Linked DNA regions of Homo sapiens: region 2 is linked to region 1. Evidence: promoter capture Hi-C in 16 types of primary human blood cells and fetal thymus (Javierre and others, 2016). All regions are on one chromosome and are shown on one strand. The core of a region is centred on a gene start or on the middle of the fragment in contact, and the rest is flanking DNA. Distances in the headings are between cores, read along the strand shown.

The links. Contacts are between HindIII fragments. The CHiCAGO score rates a contact against its expected background, and 5 or more counts as called.
Region 2: a contact is called between a fragment that was not itself captured here and the fragment with the promoter of ABHD17C in region 1, in 1 of 17 cell types (M0 macrophages). The highest score is 5.1, in M0 macrophages.

Annotation. Positions count from the first base shown.
Region 1 is chr15:80,689,986-80,696,559 of GRCh38, forward strand. It overlaps ABHD17C (abhydrolase domain containing 17C, depalmitoylase), which reads left to right and starts at 5,325. Exons shown (of 3, transcript NM_021214.2): 1 at 5,325-6,034. The coding sequence starts at 5,445. RefSeq lists silencers at 4,043-4,337, 4,799-4,958, 4,979-5,088, 5,109-5,528, 5,619-5,668 and 1 more and an enhancer at 5,859-5,928. The HindIII fragment of the contact is 4,321 bases long and covers 3,550-6,574 here.
Region 2 is chr15:80,461,529-80,468,364 of GRCh38, forward strand. The region is part of intron 3 of ARNT2 (aryl hydrocarbon receptor nuclear translocator 2); the gene reads left to right. Among named protein-coding and RNA genes, the nearest start is that of ARNT2, 61 kb to the left of the region's middle. The HindIII fragment of the contact is 2,444 bases long and covers 1,390-3,833 here.

The sequences.
Region 1 (6,574 bases), core at 4,075-6,574:
CTGGGTTCCAGTCATCTCATTTACAACCCTTTGGATAAGGGCCTTCAGACTGAAAAAGATTCTGGGAAAAGATATTTTGCCTCCAAAAGTGTTTAGTTGAATGGCAGGCCTCTTATCCTAATTAATGTCAGCATAGAACTTCTGGAATAGCCTCAAAGTATCATTTATTTTAAAAATTATAACCTTTTCATGTTTTCACATTTCAGATTTGTTACTTTACTGGTTATCTCCTTAAAACGTTTTCCCATCTTTAGTCAGTCATACTTAAATATTTTTCTACAGAGGGGCAAGCAGGATTTAGGCACACTGTTCCACTACCGATCAACAAAGTACTCATTGTCCTTATTCAGAAAGCAGTTAAGAACAATGTAAGATCTTTGCTTCTGATTCCTGAATCAGTTAATGCTGCATTAGGTTACAGGTAACAAATAAACCAACTACAATGACATAAAAAGACTTAGTTTTTTCACATAAGAAGCCTCGACAAATACAGGCGAGATCGGGGCAGCTATTAAACCATGAAGGAAATAGACTATCTTTCTGCACCACCATCTTCAGCTGTGAAATTTACCCTCATGCTTGCAAGATGGCTGCTGTTGCTCAAAAAACAATGCCTGCAACCCAGGCAGGAACAACAACAAAAAAAAAGTGAAGGGAAACATTACAGCTGAGCCTGGCTCTGTTAAAAGTCTCTCCAGAAGATCCCCCAGTATTCTCCAGTTAGGGCCTATTGGACAGAATCCTGTCATGTGGCCATCCTGATGGCAGGGGAGGTTGAGTGACTATCTTAACTGGGTACATTGTTACCATAACAAAATTTGAGCTCTATTGGTAATAAATATGGAGAGAATGTCACAATTCCTTAGCCAGAGGACACAGTGTGATGCTGGCCTTGGCTCTGGACCACTTTGTATCTTCTTCAAAGCCCATAACTCCAATAATACTGCCCAAACCAGAAGGAACAGGCTTGGTATTTTGGAAGCATTCACTAAATCACTCATTCATTCTTTTATTTTATTATTATTTTTGAGACAGGGTCTTGATCTATCACCAAGGCTGAAGTACAGTGGCATGATGACACCTCTTTACAGCCTCGACCTCCTGGGCTCAAGTGATCCTCCCATCTCAGCCTCTGGAGTAGCTAAGACTACAGGAGTGCACCACCACACCTGGCTAATTTCTTTTTGTATTTTTTATAGAGATGGGGTTTTGCCACGTTGCCCAGGCTGGTCTCAAACTCCTGAACTCGAGCAATCTGCTTGCCTCAGCCTCCCGAAGTGCTGGGATTACAGGTGGGAACCCCTGCACCTGGCCTCTCATTCTTTAATTTAGCAATTTAATTAACATTTACTGAGCATCTTCTCTATGCCAGTCATAGGGGAAACGATGAACAAAATACACATGATCCCTGATTTCACTGAGTATCCAGTCCCAAATTTTTAAAAAAATGTACAATGGGGCAACATTACCTTAGATTCCATCAAGACAACCAGATTCTGTTTTTAAGCATGAGTATCCTCTTATGGTCAAAAGTTGGTTCTACTTTTACAAATAAAAGTGGTCTTGAGCAACTCCACATCCAGCTGACTAGTGTGGAAGCCAAAATTCAGTGTGTAAAGGGCCAATATTAAGTAATAGAGATCAGGGTATTTAGTTATGTGGAATATTGTTTAGTTCATCAATACTGGCTGGCTTGGCAGGATACAGAGTTACCTAAGAGACAGATCATACAATGCACTTGTTGAGGGCAGGAGGAGCTGTGCATTAGCCACCTTTACATTCCCAAGTCAACTCAGTGACTGACTCATGATAAGTACCTAGCAGAGTAAATATGTTTGCTGACCTGAACTCAAAGTTAGATCTTTCTCTACTAGGATGATCAGAATGACATAGAAATTTAAGGCAGAGGTCCCCAAACCCCGGGCCGTGGACCTGTACTGGTCAGTGGCCTGTTAGGAACTGGGCCACATAGCAGGACGTGGGTAGCTGGTGGGTGAGCATTACTGCCTGAGTTCCGCCTCCTGTCAAATCAGCGGCAGCATTCGCTTCTCATAGGAGTGCAAACCCTATTGTGAACAGTGCATACGAGGGATCTAGATTGCGCACTCCTTATGAGAATCTAACTAGGATTTTCATGGAAAAAAATTGCCTTCCATGAAACCAGTCCCTGGTGCCACAATGGTTGGAGACTGCTGCTTTAAGGTCAAAGTGGACAGCTGGTAATCCCCAATTTTCACATTTTATAGGGCAAATGCATTCTTTATGTGCTGTATGTTAAAGTTTCCAAACCAACATGACAAGGCACACTAACACATTTGTTGTTAAAGATGTTAGATGTTAGAGACGTGCTGAGATCTTTAACCTCTTATCCCCTGGGCAGCACGTCTCATGTCAGTGGGCTACAGAAACTCTACCACTGGCTATATGTGGCATGAGATAAGAAAGGCTTGGTAGCTTCACTCTACGGCATATAATTTTAGGGTCTCAACTGAATATTTACACAAACCTGAACCAACATGTTTTCCTGGGGAATAAATGCTCTTTCAGCCCACCTCTGTGTAGCCTTGTAATAGAATGAAAACAAAAGCCAGGCTTTTATTTATTTGCTTATGTATTTATATTATACTGAATCACACTCCACAAATCCCTTGTGGAATGAGACCAGGTATAAATAAACAAGTATCTAGCTTTTAGATTTTTCTAACAATGCTAACACTGCTGCCAGGCCATCTGAAATATAAAGACTGTCTTTTCCATCAGCAGCACAGAAGACGAGTACTTGAGACTCTCATCATTCCCCCCTTTCATGAACTAAGGGCTATTCAATTCTTATAAAGGACAGGTGAGAGGAGTGGTATCTGAGAAAGACTGACTAGGGGGCTGTTAGATACCCTTTCATCTCAGTTCCCAAAGTTTGATTCTTGTTCTGAATTAGATTAGGGACTAATGCACTCGACTATAACCTTAGCTCCCCATAGAAATATCACCACTGAATCAGGACGCAAGACCATCTTCTTAGCTTTTATGAGGACTTGATTTTTTTTAAAGGCACATAAAAACTGTTTTGAATCTTCTGCTGATGCCCTAATTAGACTGTAAGGTATCTGAGAGCAGGGACTATCTTACTCACCTTGGTAGCTGTAGCACCTAACACAGTGGATGCTGTGAGCACAAAAAACATTACATACATAAATGCTGAATACAATAAAGTGACCAAAGTATACCAATGTGTAGCAAGTTAGAAAGCCTTTTTATTTTTTTGAGACATAGTCTCACTCTGTCACCCAGGCTGGAGTGCAGTGGCATGATCTCGGCTCACCGTAACCTCTGCCTCCTAGCTTCAAGTGATTCTCGTGCCTCAGCCTCCTGAGTAGCCGGGATTGTAGGTGCACGCCACCATGGCCGGCTAATTTTTGTATTTTCAGTAGAGACGGAGTTTCATTATGTTGGCCAGGCTGGTCTTGAACTTCTGACTTGAAGTGATCCACCCTCCTCAGCCTCCCAAAGTGGTGGGATTACAGGCGTGAGTCACTGTGCCCAGCTGTATAAAGCTTTTTTTTCTTTTTAAAGGATTTTCGCAGAAAAATTCTTTTTTTAAAAAAAAAAAAAAAAAAAAGGAAATGCAAACCTGCAAAGCTAGAATTGGGCTTTATGTGAAGAGTTTCACCAAGTGTGAAAACCTTCAAAACAGACTTCAAATATGCAATCTGGACAGGCTTTGTTACCAGGTTTTTAAAAATCAAGTTTGAATAGTTCAAAAACAAGTAAAATTGTTTTAGTGAAGAAATGGCCTTTTAAAACCCAGGTCCTAGCTGGGCAAGGTGGCATGTGCCGGTAGTCCTAGCTACTTGGGAGGCAGGCCGGAGGGTCATTTGAGCCCAGGAGTTGGGAGTCCAGCCTGGACAATACAGTAAGACCCTGTCTCTTAAAAAAGAAAAAATTAAAAGCGAGGTCCTGAAGGTTAATGAAATCAGTATCGGCAATTCATTTAGATGACGGTGCTCAAAATATTCGTCCTGTGGAAAGTCACAACGAAAGGTAAAATTCTCAGGACATCTGTGAGTTAAAACAACAGACCCAGCGTAGGGATTGTGCCAACCTCCCAGTCTCTAGCTGCCCTGCTGGCAGTCCAGGAAGGGTATCTCCTGTCAGTTCCTGAAAGGGAATTCTTCAGCTGCCAAATCAGGCGGGAAAAAGGAAGTATAGAAGGCTCTGTGGAAACTGGCACCAGAGCACAGTTTCAAGGCACCGAGAGTTATATTTGAAAAATCATGTAAAGGTGGCTGCCAAGATTACAGTAGATTTAAAGCAGTATAAGAATCGTTCATGACTAAGACCACTGAAAAATCCTGGACCCAAAACAACTCTAGAGACACAAACACTGTAAACGATACCTAGTATATACTTACTACCGGAAAATCTGCCACACGTGGGATTAGAAATGACAACCTCAACATGGTTTGTTGCTAAATACAGTACCCTCCTGTTCTAACAGCTGACTTTTATAGATACAGAAATGTACTAAGGGTAAAACCATGCCCTTAGAAAGGAAACGCTGTTGCTACCTATACAGAAACAGCCTCTCCTAATAAGAAACACACTGATGACCACCCTATCCCACAACCCCGGTACCCCTTACGGTGCTGAGAACTTTTGGTACTGAGCCAGTTCAGAAAGCAGCACACACGAGAGCCAAATATTTCGGGCACATTCCAACTCTTGTCCACCCCTTAGTTTCCTTTTCAGTAGACTCCCAAGAACCTCCATCCACGGGAGAAACCTGGATTTGGGGGAGGGAATCCCAGGGGGAGGGGAGGGGAGCGGTCCACCCCGGGACACATGCACCCCCTCCAGGGTCCCCTCTGCAGATCGGCCCAGCTGTCCGGGCGCAGAGCCCCCAGCCCCGGCACCCAGCTTCTCCGGGCCCCGGAGCCGCCTGGAAGCCCCCGTCGGCCGCAGGTCGAGAAGGTGCTTCCCAGGCCGGGGAAGGTGCCCGCGCCCTTGCCCGCAGCGCCCCGCCCCGATGCCCGGCTCTGCGCCGCGTCCCAGCGGCGGCGCCGCCGCGCGGTAACCCGGAAGTGGCGGCGGCGGCGGCGGCGGCGGCGGGCGTGCGGGAGCGGGAACGGGAGCGGGGGGCGGCGCGCACGAGCCGGCCATGGACGCCGCCGCCGGCTTTGTGTGCCGCGCGCGGGCCCGGGCCGCCCGCGCCTCGCCTGGGTTCCGGGGCCGCCGCTGACCCGCCCGGGCTCCGAGCGCCGCGCCCGCCGGGCCGGCCCCGCCTCCTGCCCTCCTCCGCCTCCGCCTCCTCCTGCCGCCGGGCGGGCGGGCTGCAGCCGCCCTCCGCGCTCGCCTGCCAGCTCCCTCGCCGCGCGTCCGTCCTCCGTCCTCCCGGGCCAGCCAGCCAGCCAGCCAGCCGGGCCGGCGGCGGGCACCAGGCCGTCCCGATGCCCGAGCCAGGCCCCAGGATGAACGGCTTCTCGCTGGGTGAGCTGTGCTGGCTCTTCTGCTGCCCGCCCTGCCCGAGCCGCATCGCCGCCAAGCTGGCCTTCCTGCCGCCCGAGCCCACCTACACGGTGCTGGCGCCGGAGCAGCGCGGCGCCGGCGCGTCCGCCCCGGCCCCGGCCCAGGCTACCGCCGCCGCCGCCGCGGCCCAGCCGGCACCGCAGCAGCCCGAGGAGGGCGCGGGCGCGGGGCCCGGTGCGTGCAGCCTGCACCTCAGCGAGCGCGCCGACTGGCAGTACTCGCAGCGCGAGCTGGACGCCGTCGAGGTCTTCTTCTCGCGCACGGCCCGGGACAACCGGCTCGGCTGCATGTTCGTGCGCTGCGCGCCCTCCAGCCGCTACACGCTGCTCTTCTCGCACGGCAACGCCGTGGACCTGGGCCAGATGTGCAGCTTCTACATTGGCCTCGGCTCCCGCATCAACTGCAACATCTTCTCCTACGACTACTCGGGATACGGCGTCAGCTCGGGCAAGCCCTCCGAGAAGAACCTCTACGCCGACATCGACGCCGCGTGGCAGGCGCTGCGCACCCGGTGAGCCTGCCGGGGTCGCCAGGCCTGACTTCCAGCTGTGGGGAGGCGGGGTGGGGGTCTCTTGGGGCCCCTGGGGCGGCCTGCCAGGAGAGGGGCCCCTCCTCCGGGGCTGAGGGCCAGCGGAGAGCCCCTTGGCCGCCGTAAATTCGCTTTTCTTGTCCCACCCTGGCTTGCTCCCACCCTCTCCAAAAACCGCGCCAGCCTTCAGGTTCCTGGAGAGCTCGGACTCAGAGAATTTTGCCTGCTTTGGCTCGCCTGTGTGTCGCCGGCCCACCGGCTGGGTCTTTTGTGGCTCCGGTCACCGCGAGTGGCAGAGTGTGGGTGCTTAAGTACCGGGCAGAAAGAAACAACTTGGTTCGAGTTTCGTTTGTACGAGCTGAAGTGACCTTGGGCAAGGCACATGGGTTTCTAGACTCAGTTTCCTTCCCTGTAAAGTCAGTGGGCGAGACAGGATGGCCTCTAAAAGACTTTCTGGTTGTAAAGTGCGGGCAGGACAATGTCTGGGCAACCTTGGAAACAGCTGGAGCGTCAGGTGGAGCG
Region 2 (6,836 bases), core at 1,362-3,861, 230 kb before region 1:
AGTGAGAAGCCACCACCATGGGAGAGGCTGGCCGAGGTCCAGTAGAGGAGGCCGAGGTCAGTCCTGGGAGCAGAGGCATGGGGAGACAGATGGGTGGGTGTGCATCACCCCCTGCAGAGGCTGTCTTGGGGGTGGTCTGGGGGCAGGGGCTGGCTGGCTGTGTGGGTGGGCAGTGGTGATGATGATGCAGAGCCTAGAAGGTGGCAGAGACGGATGGCACGAGTTTCAGAGGAGGAGGCCTTTCTGCCAAGGAGGCAAAAAGGAGTGAAGTCGCAGAGCCAGCCTTTCTTCCTGGGCTCAGCCAAGAAAGCAGCCTCCACTGGGAATGCTTGGCTTGACCTCACTCTTGGAATTCCAGTTATCAAGTCACTGATCCTAACAGCAGGTGGTGATAAACCCTGTGTCTTTGGAAAAATGCCGATTACACTCCAGCAAGTGTTTCTCCAAAGATGATCCTCCCGGGCAGCTGGTAGTGGTGCCGCACCCTCCTATAGTGAGGTCGGCACCAGTCCCTCCCTGGTTCCTGTGCCTGTGTGGATGGCCCTGGTGTGCCTGGGAGGCAGATGCCAGTCCTGCCCAGCACGTCCTGCAACCTCACACTCAAGCAGAGGGCCAAAGCCTTTTCATCACTCTGAGTGGTTCAGGGGCATCTTCCTACTTTAATGGACCCTTAGATTGATACATTTTCTAGGGAGTTCCAGGACACCTTCTCATACCGGCAGCTGGGGTCAGCTGCCACCAGTACATGGAGGCATCTTAAATATTGTTTCATAAGGGGCATTACTAACATCCCAGAGCTGTCATCAACAGAGTCAAAATTATACACCGTGCTCATCGTGTGCCTTACGTATGTGAATGTATGCGTAATGTGTCATTAAAACAAAAGAGAGGAAACATTCCTAATGTAACTGTCTTTTTGTTACATTTACAACTTGGGGACAAACAAGCATGCAGTCCTCAAACTTTAATTCTTGCCACTGTGTATTATCTGTATATTTTTGCTCCCTTCAGACTCATTCCACACCCTTTCTCAAAAGACCCTAAAGGCCTTCCAAGGAGTTCTCGTATCTGTTGCTGTGGATTCAGCTCCAGTGCTTGGAGCCTCCTAAGAGCTCGGACTCAAAATCCCTTATCAAGGGGCTTCCTGGCCTCTCTTTAACCTTTTTAGAAATGGCTGCAAGTGACCCCATTGGCTGCTCTTTGGTGAGATTGTAGCACCCAGTTGCACCAGTCCAACATTGTGCCTTATATTTTGTAGAGTTAGCCAGTGAACCTCTAAAGTTATCTAAAAGTAAAGATATTCACGGTAGGAAAGCTTCTGCAGAATTGACCTTTTGTTTCTCATCACGTCCATTTTGGTACTTCCCTTTTGGTTTTGTGTGGTATTTAAGCTTGTAGGCATTTTCCCCCCTGGCTTTATAGGTTGTGGTGATGTTTTAGTTTTAATCATTCCTGCTTTGTGAGTAGGTATCATGACCAAAACTCTGTTGATAAGGAAAATATGCAAGGTAGACGTGTCCTGCAGAGGTCTTTCCCGGCAGAAAGAAAAGAAGATTGTGGGTTTCCAGAATTCTTAGTCTGAGCGTCTTAGCCTAGAGAGTGGGTTACTCTGTTTCCAAGTGAGAAGACGCCTAAAGTATTTCCAAGGCAGAGAGGATGACCAGGCAGCAGCAAGGAGTGCCCCTTTTTTTATCTGGCCTCATCTTATCAGTTACCATGTGTGGGACACACTGGATGGGTACGTGAGGTCCTTGTAAGGCAGGAAGAGATTCAGCCGAGCCTTTCAGAGGTTGCAGAGCAAACGCCAAGAGGAGCCCTTCCAAACTTCCCATGCCTCCTCCCTGCCTCTACAGTCTCAGTTCATATGAACCAGACAAGTGTTGCAGATAAGCTGGGTAGAATTTGGTACAGTGTTGCTTATGAGCAACTAAAGTTGCTTCAGTGGGTTAGGGTTAGGGTTAGGGTTAGGGTTAGCACACACTGGAATGAAAGATTTTGTAGGAGGGGTGGCTTTCTAACACCATGCTGATATGGATGGGTGATTTCCTTTTTTTTTTTTTTTTTTTTGAGACGGAGTTTTGCTCTTGTTGCCCAAGCTGGAGTGCAATGGCGCGGTCTCGGTTCACTGCAATGTCTGCCTCCTGGGTTCAAGCAATTCTCCTGCCTCAGCCTCCGGAGTAGCTGGGATTACAGGTGTGCACCACCGCGCCCGGCTAATTTTTTGTATTTTTTGTAGAGACAGGGTTTCACCATGTTGGCCAGGCTGGCCAACCTCAGGTGATCCGCCTGCCTTGGCCTCCCAAAGTGCTGGGATTATAGGTGTGAGCCACTGTGCCCAGCCAGTGTGATTTCTTCATACAAGATGTTTGGCTCTCACATGATGGACCTGCACCTTGATGTGTTTCTTACCATGTTTAGCTATGCTACCCGCTTCAGTTTTTCTGCTGGAGAGATTAACCCTGATTTGAAATGATAGTGCCTGGATAACACTAGAGTTTTTTGGAGAGAGAGGAGGAAATCACTTCTGGGATCATAAGCAGTCCTGAGCTGTGTCTCTTTGGAAGCTGCTAGGCATATTCTTCCCCCATAAAGCCTTAAATATCTTTGCTCCCTAGTCTCTCCGGGCATTCTAGCTCTGAACTAGGACCAGTTAGTGCTCTGTTGGGGAGAGGTGGTGAGAGAGAGGCAGCAGGTGACTGGCAGGCCTGTTCCCAGTCCTGGTAAGTCAGTGTGACCCTTGGAGCCTCAGCTTCCTCCTCTGGGGAAAGGAGATACATCCCGATTGGGGGCTGGGGGTGGGGGGTTGCAAGGATCGATTGCAGTCAGTGCTGAGAGAGTGCTTGGGAAGCTGTAAGTTGCTATAGAAACATGCAAGATGTGTGTCTCACTGGGAACAGGGATTGTCAGAGGTGCCGGGCCTGGGTCCCTGCTTGGGAGGATCTGGGCTTCTCAGACTCCTCCCTGTGTTTTGGGTGAGTCTTGCATTCAGCCTGGACACACAGGTATCTTGTAGTTGCCTTGCAGAAACCTGGGCCTTGGATGGCTTCTGGGGAGCAGGATGCCTACCTCCTTCTCAAGGAGAGAGCAACCCTCTGCCCTTCCTGGAGCAGCCTCAGAAGCTGGGAAAACTGCCTTACTGAATATGCCTCAGTGGGCCCTCTCTGCAGGTATCTGACCAGCCTCCATGGGGCTCCTGAAATGGCTTTCTTCTGGCCTTCATGGCTCTTACAATGCCCTGCAGCATGCCTGGGAGCGACTGGCCATGAAGGATGTTCCTGGAAAGGTACAGTCTTCCTTCCCGAGTGTCACCGAGGTGGGGCAGAGCCAGTCTGTGCCTAATACTGCACCAGAGGCTCCTGACAGCTGACCAGGACTCATGTGTAGACCCCCACGCAGCCACTCTTGGTCTGATGACTCCCCCAGGCTACCTCTGAAGGCCAGGTGGTATGAGCCTATGCAAAGGGTCTCTTCCTACAGTTCTGACTCTACCCTAACTGGTCAAATCTCACAGAGAAATCCCTAGTAGGGGAAGACGGGGATTGATGCTTCCTTTGCTTGAGAAGTGCTGAAGCCCTTTACTGGAATTGCAGGCAGAAAGCCTTGTTTGTTCAGTAACTTGAGCCATGCACAGTTTGGTGAATTGTCCAAGAGCAGAGGTTATCACTGTGTGCTGGGTGAATTCTGAAAAGGAAAAAACTCCTGGTGTCTGGTCTTCCAGTTCTAGTGCAATCTGGGGAAATGAGCACAAATTCTGCCCTGAGTGAGGCCTGTTTCCAAGCCCGATGGCTTTGAGAGTGGCAGCTGCTTGGTGATGCTTCTCCAGGTTGGGGAGAAGCTTTATGTTTATTTTCAGCAGGTCTGTTGTTTGGACTGCTGTGGCCTGGAGAGGGGTGTGGACCTCAGGAGGTAGAAATGGAAGCTGAGGCATCATGGAGAAATGTGGTCCTGGTGCCATCTGCAGCAGGGCTGCTCTACAGACATTCCACGTGTGTAGAGCTTCATGTAGCTCTGAAGCTGGCAGTGAGGTGTAGTGACCAGTCGTATTATTTCAAGTGCTGACTTCTCAGATTTGGACCATGGCAGTGTAGGTGGCCTGGCTAGAGCTAGACTTGGTCATATCTCTCTCATAGTATCCTGCATCAGCCCACCTGCTGCCTTGAGGTGCCCACACCTGATCACCCTGACATGAGCAAAGAGGAGGCTGCAGAAGCACTTAGGTTTATGTCGTGGCTCCTCTCAGCCAGGCCTGCGTGGGGACTTTCAGTGTCCCATGTCCTAGGGTTCCTGGGTATTTCCTGGGACTTTTTCACAGGGAGCTCTCCCCATCGCACACTCTCAGCATCCTCTTCTGACCTTTTAGTGTACAAGGAAACCACACAGGGATTGTGTTTGCACCTGCTCACTCTCTGTTGCCCCTGCTTTTCCGTGGGCTCTCTGTCCTGTCCAGCACCCGTCTCCAGTACCCAGCACAGTAACTCCCAGACTGGAAGTATGCTCCAGGTATACCATGTCTGCAGTGATCAGGGAGTTCCCAGCATGGGGCTGTCTCATTCAGTCTGCTTGCTCCGGGTCTAAGGTTCCCTTCCCATAGCAGACAGGAGACTCAACGGCTGTCAGCAGTTTAAGGATGCTCTTTATTGAGATCTTATAAAATTCTCCTTTCGTATTCTTTAACTAAGATGGGTACCTCACCGTTCAGATTAAACTTAGGAGGTCCCCATCAGGAACAGAGTTGGAAAAGAAACACAAGTCAGTGTGCAGTTAGTTGAACCTCTTCTTTCTGTGCCTTGATTTCCATAGCTGTGCTCCTGGAGCCAAGCTCTGGGTCCTCTTAGCACAGCAGAGGTGTCTTTGAAACTGACAGCTCTACCTGTGTCCCCAACTGTCAATTCTGTGGAGTCCTGGTCCTGCTTCCCTGTACATAGGAGTTAATTTCTTTATTGATGCTACTCAGCCCCGAGCAAGCATGTGGTACACACGCAAGTCACAGACACCAGGTTCACAGGCTCACTCCTGCAGCTCCTCCAGGCAGACCCCAAATTGTCTCCTCACTCTGGGGAAGAGATGGCCTTGCCCCAGCAAACATGATCTTGGAGATATGTCCTTCTGTGTTCCCAAGATGGCATCATCCCCGCTGCCTTGATGAAGGCTTCAGAATGAAACCGTACATACATATGTGTATGTCACTCACTTATCAAATCTTGTTGCTAAGTAATTGGCAGCTGTCAGTCATTTTGACATTCTGCTGGTAACTCAGTATTATTTCATAAAATATAAAGTACTTGGAGCATTTTCTGGACTAGGCAATAAATACAATCAGTTTTTAAGCAGTTGCCCTAAGGCCATCTTCTTCATACACCTTATCTCACAGATTGGGTTCACAGAGCACTGTGGTGAAATTGCTTTAGATCTCTGTTTAAGATTCCCCATATGAAGATTTTTCACCTGCAGAATATTTATAAAGCAAGATGGTCTGTGCCACTATGGGACAAGCTCTTTGGATAATAGTATCAGAAGCAAGTGTGCGTCAGCCCTGCATTGAAGCAGTGGTCACAGTGACCAGCTGAGGGGTTTGGAGGCTCAATGGAAGGGGTTTAAGCGAAGGCTCTGGTTTGTATTTTGAGAAACATCAGTCTGGCCACAACATGAGGACTAAACTGGAGGGTGAGACTGGAGAAAAAGGCTGGGAAAAGGTGGTTGGTGACAAGGGGAAAAGTGATGACAGCAGGCAGTCGGCATGGACTGGAGAAGGTGGGAGAGAACCAGGAAACAGCTGCAAGAGCTTTGACACAGATGGAATTTTGAGGGACGGGAGCAGTTCCACGTGTGCTGAATCGAAGATAAGTAGGAATGGCTATTGCCTGGTGATACTGATGGGTGGGGAGCAGCTGACACGTGGTTGGAGTAGGGAAGAGGGCTGTGGGTGGTGCCTAATGAGCGAGATCCCAGAAGTCAGGCTGAAGAGCTGGAATGCAGACTCTAGGTGGTGTGGGTGCATGGGAGGAAAGCCGGTTCTCCAGGGTGTCTGGCGGGCAAGTGCGGGGCGGTGGCGTGCAGCCCTGGACCTAACTCATGCGTGTACTGCCCATGATCTTACAACGCCCATCAGCGGCCAGGGTGCCTGCCCAGCATCTTGCAAGGTCAGCAGCCTCAGCCAACGGTCTCTGTGTTCCGTCCACCCCATCGGGCCTTGATGAAGTGTAGGCTGGCGAGGCGGGGGCTCACCCTCCTCTGAGAGCTCCTCTAGGCCTTTCTTGCTGCACCTTGGTTGTCTCGTGACAAGCTCCTGGCTGAGGAGTCAAATGCAGGAGACGTTGGTGAAGACCCAGTTCAGGGTGGGCTGCCACCACTAATTTACCTAATTTATGGAGAGAAGGAAAAGGAAGTCCTGTATCTCCTCCAGGGAAGGGTTCCTGAATGCACTAAATAACTCAACAATCTCTAACCAAATCCCCCTTTTTCATCACTTTCTTTCATTATGATTGCCCCGCCCCAACCCATTCTTCTCTGGTTACCTCTATCTACCCCCGAGTCAACAAGCCCTGCCTGATTACGCAGCAGCAGTTTCTCCTGGAGAGTATATGCCCTTCCCTACCAGAGTGGCTGTGCTCTGTGGACCAACGGCATTTGTGCCGTGGCTGGTGTTTCCACCATTCCAGTGGGTTGGCTGCAGAGTTATCCTTTGTGGGTGGGAGAGAGCACCAGGCCTCAGGAATCTCCCTGCTGGTCCCAGCCTCCATCTCCTCCTCCCCAACCCTGAACCTCTCCCGCAACCTGCACCTCCCCCGAGAAGCCAGCCACAGAGGCAGAGAGCATCACGGCTCTTATCAGCCTGC